Linked DNA regions of Homo sapiens: region 2 is linked to region 1. The links are contacts of gene promoters, found by promoter capture Hi-C in blood cells and fetal thymus (Javierre and others, 2016). All regions are on one chromosome and are shown on one strand. The core of a region is centred on a gene start or on the middle of the fragment in contact, and the rest is flanking DNA. Distances in the headings are between cores, read along the strand shown. Region 1 holds the start of LHX4-AS1 (LHX4 antisense RNA 1). Region 2 overlaps ACBD6 (acyl-CoA binding domain containing 6).

What was found. Contacts are between HindIII fragments. The CHiCAGO score rates a contact against its expected background, and 5 or more counts as called.
Region 2: a fragment that was not itself captured here is called in contact with the fragment with the promoter of LHX4-AS1 in region 1 in 5 of 17 cell types (M1 macrophages, neutrophils, M2 macrophages and 2 more); the score reaches 6.6 in M1 macrophages.

The regions. Positions count from the first base shown.
Region 1 is chr1:180,271,864-180,277,709 of GRCh38, forward strand. It overlaps LHX4-AS1 (LHX4 antisense RNA 1), which reads right to left and starts at 2,818. Exons shown (of 5, transcript NR_037642.1): 1 at 2,788-2,818; 2 at 2,074-2,249; 3 at 1,475-1,535; 4 at 750-829; 5 at 1-108. LHX4 (LIM homeobox 4) reads left to right here. Exons shown (of 6, transcript NM_033343.4): 5 at 1-143; 6 at 2,322-5,846. The coding sequence ends at 2,716. It also overlaps a transcript of ACBD6 not described here. RefSeq lists an enhancer at 1-578. The HindIII fragment of the contact is 1,811 bases long and covers 1,935-3,745 here.
Region 2 is chr1:180,383,346-180,389,191 of GRCh38, forward strand. The region is part of intron 6 of ACBD6 (acyl-CoA binding domain containing 6); the gene reads right to left. Among named protein-coding and RNA genes, the nearest start is that of MIR3121, 52 kb to the right of the region's middle. RefSeq lists enhancers at 3,854-3,933, 4,045-4,104. The HindIII fragment of the contact is 1,036 bases long and covers 3,029-4,064 here.

The sequences.
Region 1 (5,846 bases), core at 1,568-4,067:
GAAACGCCTGAAGAAGGATGCAGGGCGGCACCGCTGGGGGCAGTTCTATAAGAGCGTCAAGAGGAGCCGGGGCAGCAGCAAGCAGGAGAAGGAGAGCTCTGCAGAGGACTGTGGGGTTAGTGACAGTGAGCTGAGCTTCCGAGGTGAGCAGGGCTGGAGGGGCCAGGCCGAGGCCTTAGGAAAGTCCCCTGGGAATCTGTAATCCCTGGCACTCAGGAGGGATCTTTCTTGAGGCCTTGGCAACTCCCTCCTGAACACAGGCTTTTCCTTAAGACTTGCAGTGAAGGGTGGGGGAAATGGTAGTGGCCCTTTACCATGGGACAGGAGTAGGAAACAAGATTGCTGAGGTCTGGAAGCTGGGATGGGCCAGGCCCCGTCCTGTGGCCCCAAGGTCTCCCCTCCCCTCCTGCTGACTGGGGCCTCCCTCATCAGCCCACACAGCTATGAACAGATGACTGGGTTCCAGCCTTGTGCCCCTAGCCCCTCTCCCATCTTTGTCCCCTTTGCTGGGACACTGGCCTACTCCCATAGTCCCCTAGAGCCACCCCTTCCTCCAGTCCTGGTGGTGGGGAGGTCATGCTCCACAGGTTTTTTCCTGGGAAATCAGTACTGTGAGTGCATGTGAGATGGGGAACTGGCTTCACTTCCGAAATCCCTTTCCCCACCACTCACTTCATTCTGTCCCCTGCACACAAGCTTTGCAGCATGCACTATATTCAAATTCATGCATCAGCAAAATTGTAAATTACTGCATGTTATGAATCCTCAGGTTGTTTGCAAAGAATCATAACTGTTCTCAGGTACTGAGTTCTCAAATGTGGAAGGTCTTCTGCGGAGGGGGAAAGGGAAGAGTACTCAACTGGCGATCAGAGACCTGGTTTCCAGTGCAGCTCTGTCAAATCGATTCACTTCTCTTGAGCCCCAGTATTCCCAAGAGGAATACCATATCTTTGCCCATCTCACTGCGTTGTGGGGATCAATGAACACAACCAACTGTGGATGTGCTTGGGGAAAGCCTGGCACATTTGTATACCTGGAAGGCATGATCGTTCCCACAGGGAGCGTGTGGCTCCCGCAGAGGGCCCTGGTCATTTGGGATGACAGGTATAGGGAAAAGGCTAACTCATGGCCATTTGACAATGGAGTGGAGCCTTCATCTTCCTGCTCCCTTTAAAGAGCATGAGCTCCCCCCACCATGTTTTTTCATAAGGGGAATGGGGGGCAGGCCTCAGAAGGGATGGGGTGTTGAAGTCTAGTCTGGGGAGGCCTTATTTAGGGATTGGTGCAGAGGCCCAGGTGGAAATAGAAAAGGAAGTTTGTGGGACAGAGGATGGAACAAGTTGCCTGCCAGGACAACGATGCCCTGGGAGGACTCTAGTTCAGCCCAGAGGTCAGCTGAGCCCTAGAGGGCAGCCTCCTCTGAGAACACAGGGCCCGTGAGGCCTTGGGGACAGCTCATGGGACTAATACTCACCTTTTAGGCTTCTTGGCAGGATTGGGAAAGTCAATCTCATCTGGGCTGTTGAAGTCAACACCTAGAACATACTGGATTGTTAAGCTCATTTCTGTTGGGTGCAGGTGGGTCCCTGGGCTGACCTATCATTGGTTTCTCTGGGAATAATTTCTCAAAGACTAAAACTGCTCACCTCTGTTGGAGAGAGAAATTCTTTCAAGTGGCAAAGATTCCATTAGATCCCCTTAATGAAATTCTTTAAGAAAAAAGAAGGTTCATTTGCCTTAATCAAGTCAATTCTTTGTCCCCAGTGAAGAGCTTATTGAATACAGACAGAAACCAAGTCCTTTGATATTGAACCTCTCTTCCAGATAGACCAGAAGGATTTTGTACAGATGTCTAAGAGTGGTCCTCAGCTTCCCTGACCATATGGGCCTGCTTGCTTCCCAATCAACTAAACCAAGCCCTTTCTCAGCTTGAAAGCTTTCAGGGTAAATGTTGTCAGCATGTAGTTTCCATTTGTGATGTGGAGACATCTGACCCACCCAGCCTTAGGCATTCATCCTCCTCAGTGTAGCCAGAGTATTAGTACACGAGCCACAAGGGACCAACGAGCTCACCAAACATTTGTCCATCCTTCTGGGACCTGGGAATTTAGTCTTTGCAGGTGTTTCTTGTTTTTCTCCTTGGCCTGGGTTGGCCTCTGGATATCAGGCTGCCATATTGGTGTGTCTGACCCATGCTTGGCTGCAAGGCAGCTGCCATCCTTGGGCATCTTTCCTGGTCATGTGTGTTCCTAGGTTGTGAAGAGCAGGGGACCATCAGAGTCCTGGCAGCTGACAATAAATCTCCGTTCTTTTGTCCACAGAGGATCAAATTCTCTCAGAACTTGGCCACACCAATAGGATTTATGGCAACGTGGGGGACGTTACAGGCGGACAGTTAATGAATGGGAGCTTCTCCATGGACGGGACAGGACAATCCTATCAGGACTTGAGGGATGGGAGCCCCTATGGAATCCCCCAGTCTCCATCCTCCATATCGTCCCTGCCATCCCACGCTCCTTTGCTCAATGGGCTGGATTACACGGTGGACAGTAATTTGGGCATCATTGCGCATGCAGGGCAGGGAGTAAGCCAGACGCTGAGAGCCATGGCTGGGGGACCCACCTCTGACATCTCCACAGGAAGCAGTGTAGGCTATCCCGACTTTCCAACTAGCCCAGGCTCTTGGCTCGATGAAATGGATCATCCTCCTTTTTAAACTTCTCTCCTCCCCACCCTACCTGCCCCCCTGGCTTGAGAGAATATCTTCAAGGATCAAAAGAGACTTGCCTTTTAAGGATCGAAAGTACGCCAATGTGAATTTCCATTATTTTCAATGGAAGTCCTCCGCTGATTCCTAGAAGGCTGTGAGACCACACTAGGGCATTGTTTCCCTGGGGAAGCAGTGGGAGAGCAGACTCATCTCAGAACACAGCACAGGGGGTAATGGCCTAGAGCTCTAGGGACACTGGCTTGTTGGGTCTCTCCCCTGCTGTTCTGCTTAGGGGCTTGGCTGCTCAGTGCTTTGGTAGCACAAGGTGACTGTGATAGGCCCCCTTGGCCTTTGGGAACTTTGCTCCAACTGGTGTGTCTCACACAATGCCTCCCAAAACACTGCTCTCACCAGAACTGAGACTCCTAAGGTAGAGGCCTCACAGCCCTTGAGTAAAATAAAAGTGATTTCTGGACCATCCTTATTGAACCCTATATTTCAAAATGAAAAGATCAGTTATTAAAGGTCAGTGAACACTTTGATGGCCAGTTTGATATTAAAAACATGCCCCCTCCTTTTTTATTTTTGCTGTGAAGATATGAATTCTTTCCTACAAACCAGAGAATATGAACCTGTTTTGGTTTTTAAGTGTCCCATCTATATCATTGACTCTGATGGCAAGAGGTGGTTTTCATTGCAGGTGACTGAGGCTGAGCTGAGTAGCCCTGGACCACCGCTGCAGATTGCCTGAGTCGTCCCCTTGGTGCACAGTGTGCCTTCTTCAATTGCTTGTATCATTTATTCCACAAGACAGGCTGTGGGCTGTAAAATGAGCAAAACTAAAATGTGGGGAGAACAAAATGACAATCAATCAGTGAACATTTGTAGACACATTTGGATTCCAAACCTGCAGTCTGTTCAGCCATATCGGCTGATGCCAGTCTTCCAGAGTTCCCCATCCCTTGTAGGGTGAAATATTTGGAGTCTGTTTTGAAGGAGTTGGTTTAGATGAGCTTGCAAGTCTACCCCTCTGAAAGCTTTCTCTGCTGTCCTAGCTGACTCAATTGGAGGACAGTTTTGGTCATTTCCAGGAACCAGCAATTTTTTTTTGGCCTACCTTGGTTGGGAAGAGTAATTTAGGGAGCAGCCCTAAAATTGTCCAAAGGGTTCTAAGTGGTTCTTGGGCTGCATCTCTCTGGATTGCTGGCTGGACACCTGCCATGCCTTGGGCTGCAGTCCCATGGTCAGAAAGCCAGAACTCTCTGGCCAGTGGTGGTGCAGGGACTCCCCGTTGTGCAGGTTTGCAGTAGCAAATCACTAAGCCTGAGGCCAGAGCAAGGCCAACCCCCGCTTTACGAGTTGCCACTCCTGCGACAGACTGCACTGCTGTGGGAAACGCTGTCCTGAATGGTGCTGCAGCTCCCACCCACCTTGTGCACCCATCTACCATCAGGAAGCTCTCCATGTGCAAACTGGAATTTAGCCAGCTGGAATTTATTCCTGTCCCTCTGGGAAGCTGTGTTTGCTTCTTCTGGCCTCCCATTCTCTTAAATGAGATCAGCAGAGTAGGAAAGGGTGAGAAGGCATTGCCTATCACATGAAGTGATGGGGCCAGAGACCCTAAGGACCCTTCCTTCTACGAATGGTTGGTCACCTTTTGAGGACTGCAAAGACTTAGGCATGTCATAGGCAGACTAAAGGAAGAATACACAGTTCCTCTTGGACTGCTACATCTTTTGTAAGCCCTTTTCCAGGACTAAACTAAGTTCAATTAAGTAAGTTCTTTAAAACAGTAAATTCCGGGATCAGCCTTCGGGCCCTCTTCTCTGACCAATTTTATAGCGTACCCTCGTTTTTTGGTGTGCTGCAGTGGTCATGATTTTTGCTTGAGAAGTCTGCAAACATAGACACTTCTCTTGAGGTTCCATGTTTATGGATGATGTTGTGTTAATCCTAGCCAATTCTGTGCTATTGGGAATTCTCCAATCATGAACACTGGGGTGGGGAGGAAGACACAAATGCCATGTGAGGAAAGGAAAATGCAGTCGTCTTTTTGGAGGATGGCTTTTTAAATACACCCTTCTTAGCAGGCTGCTTAAAATACACAGGAGAAAAGGCTCTGCTGGGCAATGAACCAGATGAAAAGCTGCCCACCCAGATCACTGTTGCAGGTTGACTATTTGGCTTAGCAACTCATGGGATTTCAGAGGCCCTTGAAGTTTTTGGTGAGTATAGTGTGGGGGAGAGCAGGCTTTTTAAAAGGGGGGGGGGCATCCTCCTCTGTGTAGCACTGTTTAAGATCACTGTAAGTAAGTTGACCAGTTTTTGTAAGTTAATCATACTAATTCCCAGTTCAATAGTGGAAGGAGAGGCCTTCCTCATTTATACTAATAATATAATAAATCTCTTGAGGAACTCAGTGAGCAGTTGACGAGGTCAATAGTTCTTTGGCATCAGTAGGGCTGGTTAGCTGGAAAAACCCTTGAGAGCACTGGCCTGAAAACCAGGAGAGCTTTGTTTTCCAGAGCCACCTCCCCAGAAAGCAGCAAACACTGCTGCCTGTTTAGAAGCACAGCCACAGTAGGTCTAAGATTTTAAATGGATCTCCCTACAGGTTGGGTTAGCATTATGGGTGGGCTGGTGCCACTAATGAGCCATTGCATGACAGGACTCTTCTGGGGTTTGGAAATGGAGAAAAGCCGGGCATTCATTACTTTTAGCTTCTCTTAGAGGCACTCCTCTGTTGCTTGGAAGTCTATTATGGGGTATAAGGTGCTACATGGTAGCTGTTTCCCCCCTTGCTAAAATGACATGGATGAATTTTAAAAATGAAATGAGACCTTCTAGAGGCAACCATTATCTGCAGTGCCTGGCTGGTCGACTTTAGAGTAGGAAGCTCTTGAATCCAGGAGCAAATTAGTTAAAACCCCAAGTTCCAGTGGTAACTGGTATAAGCAAAATGGAAACTGAGGGGCTATGGAGGAATCTCTGTTTGTTGGAACGTAATGAAACCATGGAGGAAATACCAGATTTAAGGGCTAAGAAGCTGGCCCGATGGGTAAATCAGTGTTGGGAGTCAGGTTCTTGGCCCTTCAAGGACTTGCTATGCAACCTCAGGCAAATTCCTCTCAGTCTT
Region 2 (5,846 bases), core at 2,297-4,796, 110 kb after region 1:
AATACAAAATCAACATATAAAAAATCAGTAGGGTTTCCGTACCCCAATAATGAACTAGCTGAGAAAGAAATCAAGAAGGCAATCCCATTTACAATAGCTATAAAAAAAATACCTGGGAATAAATTTAACCAAGGAGGTGAAAGATCTCTATAAGGAAAACTACAAAACTGACAAAAGAAATTCACAAAAAAATAGAAAGACATGCCATGCTCATGAGTTAGAAGAATACTGTTTAAATGACCACACTGCCCAAAGTAATCTACAGATTCAATGCAACCCCTATCAAAATATTGACGTCATTTTTCACAGAAATAGAAAAAATAATTGTAAAATGTGTATGGAACCAGAAAAGAGCCCAAATAGCTAAAGCAATCCTGAGCAAAAAGAACAAAGCTGGAGGCATCACACTGTCTGACTTCAAAATATATTATAATGCTATAGTAACCAAGAAAGCATGGTATTGGTATAAAAACAGACACACAGACCAGTGGAACAGAATAGGGAATCCAGAAGTAAATCTAGGTATTTAGAGTCAACTGATACTCAACAAAGATGCCAAGAATATACATTGAGGGAAGGCCATCCTTTTCAATAAATGGTGCTGGAAAAACTGGATATCCATATGCAAGGGAATAAACTGGATCCCCATCTCTCACCATATATAAAAATCAACTCAAGATGAATCAAATACCTAAATACAAGGCCTGCAACTATAAAACTACTAGATGAAAACATAGGGAACTTGGTCTAGACAATGGTTTTATGGCTAAGACTTTGAAAGCAGAGATTAAAAAAAAAAAACAAAAATAGCTAAATGAGACTATATTAAACTACAAAGCTTCTGCACAGCAAACAATCAAAAGAGTAAAGAGTCAACCTATAGAATGTGAAGAAATATCTGCAAATTATCTGACAAGGGACTAATATCCAGAATATACAAGAAACTCAAACCATTCAATAGTTAAAAAAATAATAATCCTATTAAAAAATGAGTAAAGGATGTGAATAGACATTTCTCAAAAGTAGACAAACAAATAGCTAACAGCTACATGAAAGAAATGCTTAACATCACTAATCATCAGGGAAATGTAAATCAAGACCACGAGATACCATCTTATCCCAGTTAGAATGGTTATTATTAAAAGATTAAAAATTAACAGATGCTGGCAAGGATGCAGAGAAAAACTCTTATACATGGTTAGTGAGAATGTAAATTAGTACAGCCACTATGGGGCAACAGTATGAAGATTTCATAAAAAACTAAAAACAGAACTAACATACACTTCAGCAATCGCACTACTGGGTATTTATCTAAAGGAAAAGAAATAAGTGTATCAAAGGTACACCTGCACTTTGATGTTCACTGTAGCACTATTCACAATACCAAAGATATGGAATCAACTGAAGTGTCCATCTACAGATGAATGGATAAAGAAAATGTGGTATGCATACACAATGGAATACTAGTCAGCTATGAAGAAGAATGAAATCATGACATTTGCAGCAATGTGGATAGAACTGGAGGCCCTTATGTCAAGTGAAATAAGCCAGACACAGAAAGACGAATTTTACATGTTCTCATTCATATGTAGGAGCTAAAAAAGTTGATCTCATGAAGGTAGTGGGTAGAAGGACTGATACCAGAGGCTGGAAAAAGTGTGCTGGTGGGAGGTAGTGATGAAAAGAGTTTGATCAATAGGTATAAACATACAGTTAGATAGAAGGTATAATGTTTCATAGCAGAGTAGGGCTTTTACTACAGTTAGCAACAACGCATTGTATATTTCAAGGCAGTTAGAAGAGAGAACCTGAAATGTTCTCCAGGTTATGGATACCCCAAATACCCTGACTTGATCATTACACATTCTATACATGCAACAAAATACTTATAAACACAAAAGAAGTCAGGAAAGAAAAAAATAGAGAAACAGAGCAGATGGGACAAACAGAAAACAAATAGCAAGCTGGTAGACTTAAACACAACCATACCAGTAATTACATTAAATGTAAATGAATTAAACACTGCAATTAAAAGACAAAGATTATCATACTAGATAAAGACCAAAACCCAACTACACACTGTTTATAAGAGACATGCCTTAAATATAAAGATACAGTGTTATGGACTAAATTGTGCTCCCCCACACCCAATTCCTATGTTGAAGCCCTAACACTCAATATGACTATATTTAGAAATAGGGCCTTTAAAGAGCTAATTAAGGTCAAATTAGGTTATAAAGGTGGGGCCTTAACGTGATAGGGCTGGTTCCCTTACAAGAAGAGAGAGAGACACTAGAGATCTCTCCATATATGAGCACAGAGGAAAGGCCCGTGAGGACCCAGCAAGATGGTGGCTATCTACAAGCCAAGTTGAGAGGCCTCACCAGAAATCAACCCTGTTGGCGCCTTTATCTTTGATTTAGAACCTCCAGAACTGTGGGAATAAATGTCTGTTGTTTATGCTATTCAGTCTGTGTATTTTGTTACAGCGGACCAAGTAGACTAACACATACACATAGGGTACAAGTAAAAGGATAGAAAAGGCTGGGCGCAATGGCTCACACCTGTAATCCCAGCACTTTGGGAGGCCGAGGCGGGTGGACCACTTGAGGTCAGAAGTTTGAGGCCAGCCTGGCCAACATGGTGAAACCCTGTCTCTACTAAAAATACAAAAATTAGCCAGGCATGGTGGTGCGTACCTGTAGCCCCAGCTACTCTAGAGGCTGAGGTTGGAGAATAGCTTGAACCCAAGTGGCAGAGGTTGCAGTGAGCCAAGATTGCACCACTGCACTCCAGCCTGGGCGACAGAGCTAGACACTGTCTCAAAAAACAAACAAAAACCGCATTCAGTAGTTAAGCTATGAGATAAGTTAGGTGTATTAAGTGTATTTTCAACTTATGATATTTTCAACTTATGATGGGTTTATCAGGATGTAAGCCCATCATAAGTTGAGGAGCATCTGCAGTGTACTTTTTCCTTCTAACTGCTTTCAATGTTGTTGTTGTTTTTTTCTCATTAATTTTCCAAAGCTTGATTTTAATGTGTCTTGCTGTGGATTTTGTCAGGTATATCTGTCTATGGTTCTCTCAGCTTCTCAAATCTATAGGTTTATGCCTTTTATCAAATTTGGGAAGTTTTCAGCCAGTAACTCTTCGAATATTTCTTGTAGTTCCACACTCTTTCTCCTCTCCTTCTAGCACTCTGATGACAAAAAAAGTTAGATCTTTTACAATTGTCCCACAGTCCTGGAGCCTCTGTTAATTTCTTTTCCATCTACTTCTCTCTGTTATTCAAATTATATACTTTCTATTGCTTTAAGTTCACTGATCTTTTTATCATTTCCATCTAGTATTGAGTGCATCCAGTGAATTTTTATTTCAGCTATTATATTTGCAATTCTATAATTTCTATTTAGTTCCTTTTTAGATCTCTTATTCCTTTGCTGAGATTTTCTGTTTTTTCCACTTGTTTCAAGAATGTTTGTAACTACTCATTGAAACATTTTTATGATGACTGCTCTAAAATCTTTGTCAGATAATTTCACCATCTCACTGTTTGGCGTATATTGACCTCCTTTTACCATTCGAGTTGTGATTTCCCAGGTTCTTGGTATGATGAGTAATTTTCAGTTTTGAGTATGCGTATCTGTATTCTATTTAAATCTTCTAGTTTAGCAGGCAGTTTCTCTATTTGGGTTTCTTGTGCAGCTCCTGATCTACTTTTAGGAGTTGTAGTTCCAATAATAATTTCATTTTCAGAGCCCTTACAGTACTATTTGGGTCTGCCTTGCTTGTGTGCTACTTAGAGGTCAATGTGAAAATGTAGGCACTATTCCACACTGTAGTTCAGTTCTCAACCCTTCTGTCATGTTAATTTTGGTCAGTATAATGTACGAGTCACTCTGGGTTCTTTCCAGGACTCTACATACAAGTTTAAAGCATTGCTTTCTCCAGCTCCCTCCTCTCTAAAATTCTCCCCCACACCATCACTCCCTATTTGGGAAGGGGAGAAGTACTACCTTATTATTGCTTTTAATTCCAGGGTGGGAGGTGATGGATATCCAAGCTTACCACTTGGTCTCCACTGACACCACACTTACGACAGAAGGGGAGTATCATCTGCTACCTCTGGGCAGGAGATGAAAGTCTAGGCTTCCCATTTGGCCTCTTCTGGCACCACCCTGGTGAGGAAAGGAAATCACTCCCTGCTACCACTGGGCAGGAACTGAAAGCTCAGGGTACTCATTCAGCATCTGTTGATAACACCTTGATGGGGAAGAGAAGCACTGCTTGCTACCACCAGCCAGAGGATGTGTAGGCTTCCCTTTCAGCCTCCAAGCAAGGGGGTGGCATATTCTTCCTCCATGTATTTGGCTGGGGTAGGGTGGTATTGTTGTTGAAAAGTTCTGTTCTTTTAGATTGCCCCTTTTCCTGTCCTTTGGCAAGAGATAACAGGCTTTTCTTATCTGCACCCATTGGTATTTCTGGGTTGTGGGCTTCTCCAGAGCCCACTTCAGCTTATAAAGAAACAAAAAGAAAACCCAGAGAAGCCGGGCACGGTGGCTCACACCTGTAATCCCACCACTTTGGGAGGCCGAGGCGGGCAGATCACAAGGTCAGGAGATTGAGACCATCCTGGTTAACATGATGAAACCCCGTCTCTACTAAAAATACAAAAAAATTAGCCGGGCGTGATGGTGGGCACCTGTAGTCCCAGCTACTCGGGAGGCTGAGGCAGGAGAATGGCGTGAACCCAGGAGGCGGAGCTTGCAGTGAGCCAAGATCGCGCCACGGCACTCCAGCCTGGGTGACAGAGCGAGACTCCGTCTCAAAAAAAAAAAAAAAAAGAAAAAGAAAACCCAGAGAAATCACCACAGGGTCATTTCTCAATTCTTGAGGTCCCTAGTCAGTCAGCTCTCTTCTTCTAACCCTTTAGTCTTCTTATGTTTATTTGCTGTGTATGTCCAGGGTTTTAAATCTGAACTGAATAGGAAGAACAGGCAGAAATAAGTCTTATCAGGAACTGAAGACCCCTCATCTAAGCATTAAAGAATAGTTAATACTAATCTTAAATGCACTCTTTCAGAGAATAAAGGAGTATTTCCCATCTGGTTTTATGCAGCTAATACAACTATCTCTATTTGCCAATGATATAATCTTGTATATAAAAATTATAAGGAATCCACTAACAAACTGTCAGAACTAATAGAAGCATTCAGAAAGAATGCAGGATACAGATCAATAAACACAGATCAATTTTTTTTTTTTTAATTTTTGTAGCAATACAGAGTCACTATGTTGCCCAGGCCAGTCTCAAACTCCTGGCCTCAAGTGATCCTCCTGCCTTGGCCTTCCAAAGTGCTGGGATTACAGGTGTGACCCATCATGCCTGGCCAAAAATTAATTGTATCTCTATACATTAAAAATGAACAATCAGAAAAGGAAATGAAGAAAACAATTTCATTTATAACATTAAAAACATAAAATACTTAGTAATAAATTTAACAAAAGAAGTGTAAGACTTGTACACTGAAAACTATAAAACATCAAATGAAAGAAATTAAATAAGACCTAAATAAATGGGAAGGCATCATGTATTCATGGACTTAATATTTTAAGATGGTACTATTCCCCAAGCTGATCTATAGATTCAATGCAATTTTTTTTTATTATTATACTTTAAGTTTTAGGGTACATGTGCACAACGTGCAGGTTAGTTTCATATGTATACATGTGCCATGTTGGTGTGCTGCACCCATTGACTCGTCATTTAGCATTAGGTATATCTCCTAATGTTATCCCTTCCCGCTCCCCCGCCCACAACAGGCCCCAGAGTGTGATGTCCC